Regions from separate parts of the Homo sapiens genome. Here region 2 is linked to region 1. The links are contacts of gene promoters, found by promoter capture Hi-C in blood cells and fetal thymus (Javierre and others, 2016). All regions are on one chromosome and are shown on one strand. The core of a region is centred on a gene start or on the middle of the fragment in contact, and the rest is flanking DNA. Distances in the headings are between cores, read along the strand shown.

Region 1 (3,118 bases), core at 501-3,000:
ACTGAGGTGGGCAGATCACTTGAGGTCAGGAGTTCGAGACCAGCCTGGCCAACATGGCGAAATCCTGTCTCTACTAAAATTACAAAAATTATCCAGGAGTGGTGGCACATGCCTATAGTCCCAGCTACTTGGGAGGCTGAGGCAGGAGAATTGCTTGAACCCGGGAAGCGGAGGTTGCAGTGAGCCAAGATTGCACCATTGCACTCCAGCAGACTCTGTCTCAAAAAAAAAAAAAAAAAAAGAAAAGAAAAAGAATGAGGACCAGTATAGCTCTTAGTTTAGGGTCTTTATTTTTATTGGTGCTTCTGCCCTGGATTGTTTTTTGAGGGAAGAAAGAAAGGGTTGCGTGATTCTTTGTACATAGTGAAAACCTAGATCAGTTTTTACTTTAGGGCTATGGATAGTGGGAGTTGGGAGGGCAAGCAATAGTCTCAAAAATGTTCAAGGAATTAAAACACAAAAACGGAAAATTGCAAGTGTTGACAAGGTTGTGGAAACTTGGAACCCTCAAACATTGGTGATGGGAATGTAAAATGATTCATTCAGCTGCTGTGGAAAACTTTTTGGCAGTTCCTGGAAAAGTTAAACATAGAATTACCCTATGACCCAGAAAGTCCACTCCTAGGTATGTATCCAAAAGAACTGGGAACAGGTACTCAAATATGTGTACAGGCATGTTCAGAGCAGCACTATTCACAATAGCCAAAAGGTGGAAGTAACCCAAATATCTATCAAGGGATGAATGAATAAACAAATTATAATATACACATACAATGGGATATTAATCAGCCATAAAAAGGAATGAAGTACTGATCCACGCCTCAACATGGATGAATCTTAAATACAGGCTAAGTCAAAGAAACGACACAAAAGGCCGCATATTGTATGGTTGCATTTATATGAAATACCCAGAAAAAAGTAAACTCACAGAGATAGAAAATAGCTGAGTCGTTGCCAGGGTCTGGAGGAAGGAGGGACTGGGGAATTACTGCTTAATGGAGTATGGATGTTTCAGAACTAGATAGAAGTGGTTGCTCAACATTATGAATGTAATAAATGCCACCAAATCGTTCGCTTTTAAGTGGTTTATGTTATGCGAATTTCACCTCAAAAAAAAAAAAAGTTAAAAAGCCTTCTCTGCCTTTCTCTGGGGTTGGAGTCTTCCCAATGGATCCAGGGCAAAAGAAACATCCAGCCACTCTGTTTGCGGGAGGAGCAAAGGGTGGCTTGTCCCGACAGTTTGAGCTGTTGTGCATGCATTTACACACGCATTAATTCCAAATGAGTCAGCACAGTGTCCGAGACAGGTCCTGGGCTCCAGTGAGCACAGTCGCTCTCCTGGGGGAGGCACGTTCCACAAATTAACAGAAGTTCTGATAAACTCAGCATAGGGGGATTCGCTGTCCCAAGTATCAAGGAGTCCTAAAAGAAAAGGGCCTATTTCAGTCGGGGGACCTGGACTGAACTAACTCGTGTTCATGGCCGCCAAATCCCGTGTGACAAATGTATTCTTTTGTTGTTCATAGAAATAAAACAGTTTTTCGGGCCGCTTCAGGAGCTCCTCTGCAAAGGTGGGGAAAAAAGGCAACTAAATCAGCACGAGGACGTCAGCCCGAGGATGTCAGGAGCGGGGTCGGTGCGGACGGGCAGGTGGGCGGGGGGGCACCCCGCGCCCCGCCCCAGTCCCCTGGAGGCCGGCGGCCGCAGCTCGGGGAAGTGGGGACTGGCGCGGGGCCGCGCTCCCGCCCTCCTCGGCGGCGCCGACGGACCGGCAGGCGGCGGGCGGTCCGCGAGGGGGCGGCGGCGTCCGGGCTTTGTGGCCGCGGCGCGCGCGGCGGGGCCTGGCCGGCCGGGGGCGCGCCGCCGCCGCCGCCGCCGCCCGGCGTTCGGGAGCCCGCGGCCCTCCCGGCCGCCCTGCTTGCGAGAGGAGCCCAGGCCGCCCGCCCTCGCGCCTCGCCGGCCCCTCCCCCGGTCGCCGCGGCTGCCGCGCCGCCGCTGCAGGTAGGAGGCTCCCCTTCCGGGCGGGCCGCAGCCGGGCGGGGGCGGGGGTGGGGGGCGCGGGCCGGGCGTAGAGGGGGCCGGGGGCCGGCATGGAGGGTTTTCGGGCCGAGCCGCTGCGACCCCGGCCTTGCAGGCTGGGCGCCGGGCGGCCGCCTCTGCGCGCCGCGATGGGACTCGGTGAGTAGGGCCGGCCTGCTGCCTACAAAGCCCCGGGGCGCGGGCCTCTGGGGTACTCAGTGGCGCGCCCACGGCTGGGAGCGGGGTGGGCTTTGGACTCCCGGGCTCGGGGAGCTGCTCGGGGGGAATCCAGGTGACCTGCAGTACCGCGGTCTTCCCATCCCGGCGTCCCCACTGTGTGCTGATCACTGTGCTCGGCGCTTTTCCATACTTGTCTCCTTTAAGACCTCCAGTGCCCCGCCCGTCCAGAGTGTAACGGGAGGGATCCCTCACTTGCAGGATGAAGGCCGAGCATCACATCCTTGCTTGACTGACCTTGGGAAAGCTCCTTTACTCCGAGCCGGGGCTACTGTTTCTGTAAATTAGAGGCGGGGGTCGGGGGGGCGTGGTATAATATCTACCCTCAGGTACTATTGTGAAAGATAATGTATGTAAATGATAACAGCTAAATTTTGAGCACTCTGTATGTACCAGGCCCTAGGTACTAAACAGTTGGCATGAATTATCATTGAATCATCACCCTGGCGCTGTGAGGTAGTTACTGTAAATTGCATGAATAATCTTTATTTAGGAGTACGAAACAGTGAAGAATTTAGTCTCCCTATTCCGATTCAGGAGGTTGGGTATTTCTTAGGCGTGATAACATTTAACATTACAGACGTTCCTGCAGTATCGAGGAGAGTAGTTATAGGATGCAGGGATATATTTGTCATACATTTAAAACTGGAGGTAGGATAATATCAGGGCCAGAGAGTGTGCCTTTCAGCATGTCAGAGCAGATGATTGTATTCCAAGGAAATTGCTGAATATTAATTAAAAAACATAGTTTCTGAGTTAGGATTGAGGATGGCTGTGGGAGTCCAGGGCCAGAGAGAGACATGGGATGGACAAGGGGGAGAAGAAGGATTCTGAAGTCCTGGAGGAAGATGTAGAGGAAGGC
Region 2 (3,194 bases), core at 550-3,049, 1.3 Mb before region 1:
CAGTGTAATCTCTGCCTTTTAAGATATGTACAGAAAATGTCCATATAAATTTCCATTGAAGTCGAATGATACTGAGAAGCCTGTAAAGAGGAGAAAAAAACATAAGCTGTGTTTCCCCATAAGTTTTTTTAAATTGTATATTGTATTTGTAGTAATATTCCAAAAGAATGTAAATAGGAAATAGAAGAGTGATGCTTATGTTAAGTCCTAACACTACAGTAGAAGAATGGAAGCAGTGCAAATAAATTACATTTTTCCCAAGTGCCAGTGGCATATTTTAAAATAAAGTGTATACGTTGGAATGAGTCATGCCATATGTAGTTGCTGTAGATGGCAACTAGAACCTTTGAGTTACAAGAGTCTTTAGAAGTTTTCTAACCCTGCCTAGTGCAAGTTACAATATTATAGCGTGTTCGGGGAGTGCCCTCCTGTCTGCAGGTGTGTCTCTGTGCCTGGGGGCTTTTCTCCACATGCTTAGGGGTGTGGGTCTTCCATTGGGGCATGATGGACCTGTCTACAGGTGATCTCTGTTGCCTTTGGGTCAGCACATTTGTTAGTCTCCTGGGGGTGAAAACTTGGCTTACAAGAGAACTGGAAAAATGATGAGATGTGGTCCCCAAACCCTTGATTGACTCTGGGGAGGGGCTTTGTGAATAGGATTGCTCTCACATTAAAGATAGTTACTTCAATTTGAAGGCTGGATTTAGGGATTTTTTTTTTTCCTTATAACAAAGACATCACCAGGATATGAAGCTTTTGTTGAAAGTTGGAAAAAAAGTGAAATTAAAGACATTCCCAGACAAATACTAAGACAATTTGTTGCCTATGGACGTCTGCCTTACAAGAAATACTAAATCCTTCACACAGAAAATAAATGACACCAGATGGTAACCTGAATCCACAGGATGAAATGAAGAGCACCAGAAATGGTGGATATATGTACAACTAGCAAAGACTGTATGATTGTATAGCTGCCATAAATTACTACAAATGCCCTGGCTTAAAGCAACACCTATTTATGATCTCAGAATTCCATAATTCAGAAGTCTAGGCATAGCTCAGATGGTTCTCTGCTCCATATTTTAAAAGGTCAAAATGAAGGCATTGGCTGGGCAACATTCTTTTCTGGAGGCTCGGATGAATAGGCTTCCAAGCTCATTGAGGTTGTTGGCAGAATTCAGCTCCATATGGTTGTAAGACAGGTTGGCCAGGGGTGGTTGTCAGTTTCTAGAAGCCACTCAAATTCTTTGGCTCGTGGTTCCCTCCTCCATCATCAAAACCAGCAGCAATGGGTTGAATCATCCTTGCACTTTTCTCGGATCTCCCCTTCTGCCTCATCTCTCCACTGTCTCTTCCACTGCATCTCTCTAATGCTTCTGCTTCCCTCTTCTGCTTTTAAGGGGCCATGTGATTACTCAGGGGGCCATCTGGATAATCCAGGATAATTACCCTATTTAGTAACCTCAGTTTTACCTGCAAAGTGCATTCACTGCAGTACCAAGATTAGTATTTGATTAAATAACTAGAGAATGGGAATCTTGGGGAAATAATTTGCCTACCAAAATAAATGTAAGTTATCTTTCAGTAGCATAAGACTATATAGTAATTACATCACCATACTGTTGGGTTTACAATATAGGTGCAGTGTATATTAATAACAAAGGAGTGGGTAGGAAATGGAACTCTATTGGGACAAAGATGTATCTTATTAGAATTAATTAGTCCTAATTTGAAGATGATTGTAATAAATTGAAATGCATGCTGTAGAGCCTGGAGTAACCACTGAAGCATCAATTTAAAAATAAATTAAAAAAAACAAAATGGTACACCAAGAAATATTTAACACAAAAGGCAGAAAGAAAGAAGCAAAATGATAGACATTTGGAAAACAAATAGCAAAATGGCAGCCATAAGTAATCATGCCAATAATTTCATTAAATGTGAATGGACTAAATAGTTAAAAGGTAGAGATGGTCAGGATGGATTTAAAAAGAAAAAACTATATGGTGTTCACAGAGGCACACTGTAGATTCAAAGACCAATAGCTGTAAAGTGAAAGTATGGAAAAATATAACATGCAAACAGTAATCGTAAGAGAGCTGGAATGTCTATATCAGTACAGTGGGCTTTAAGACAAATATTACTGGAAATATAGGATATTTTAAAAAGCCAATATATCAGATATAACAGTTAACATATGTATATGCACCTAACAGGACCCCAAAATAACGAGAAAAATGATAGAATTGAGAGGAGAAATGGACAATTTAATAATATTTGGAGATTTTGACACCTACAATAATTGATAGAATGACTCAATTGAGAATCACAGGCATACAAAAGAATGCTGTCAGCCAAATTGTCCAAACATTTACCACCACCCACCACGAACAGAATGCACACTCTTTGCTAGTGCACATGGAACATTCTCCAGGGGAAACCACATGCTATTTCATAAAAGAAGTCTCAGTGAATTAAAAGGGATGAAATAGTAGGAAGTATGTTCTCCAACCATGTTGAAATTAGAAGTCAACAGAAAATTGCAAATCCCAAAATATTCGGAAATTGAATCACACATTTCTAAAAAACCCATGTATTGAAGAAGTCACAAAGGAAGTTAGAAAATTTTAAACAAATGAAAAAGTACAGCATGTCAAAATTTATAGTGTACAGCTAATGCACTGTTTAAAGGGAAATTTACACTTTTAAATACCTATACTTTAGAAGTATTAAAGCCAGTGGGGATAGCTGCAAAAATACTTAAAACACAATATTAGGAAACTGAATCCAACAACAGATAAAAGGATTTATACACCAGGACCAAATGGGCCATATCCTAGGACTGTAAGCTTCATTTAACATCAAAAAAATCAATGTATTATACCATACTAATAGAAGAAACAATAAAACCCATATTATTATAATAACTAAATAGCCAAAGGAAAGAATATTTGACAGAATTCAGCACCCATTCGTGATGAAAACTCAGCAAACTAGAAATAGAAGGCAACTTCCTCAACCTAGTGAAGGGCATCGATAAAAAACTCACAGCCAACATACTTGATGGTGAAAGAATACTTTTCTCCTTAAATCAGAAACAAGTCGAGAACATCCTTTCATCATTTCTATTCAATGTTGTCATGGAGGTTCTGTCCAGTCCCTGTTCCCTCTCCCTACAAAAAGACTAGAAAGAC

The links. Contacts are between HindIII fragments. The CHiCAGO score rates a contact against its expected background, and 5 or more counts as called.
Region 2: a fragment that was not itself captured here is called in contact with the fragment with the promoter of MSANTD3 in region 1 in 1 of 17 cell types (total B cells); the score reaches 8.5 in total B cells.

What each region holds. Positions count from the first base shown.
Region 1 is chr9:100,425,393-100,428,510 of GRCh38, forward strand. It overlaps MSANTD3 (Myb/SANT DNA binding domain containing 3), which reads left to right and starts at 1,751. Exons shown (of 3, transcript NM_080655.3): 1 at 1,751-2,001. RefSeq lists silencers at 1,588-1,817, 1,858-2,087, 2,128-2,247. The HindIII fragment of the contact is 12,044 bases long and covers 1-3,118 here.
Region 2 is chr9:99,153,389-99,156,582 of GRCh38, forward strand. It overlaps TGFBR1 (transforming growth factor beta receptor 1), which reads left to right. Exons shown (of 9, transcript NM_004612.4): 9 at 1-804. Among named protein-coding and RNA genes, the nearest start is that of TGFBR1, 50 kb to the left of the region's middle. The HindIII fragment of the contact is 2,096 bases long and covers 752-2,847 here.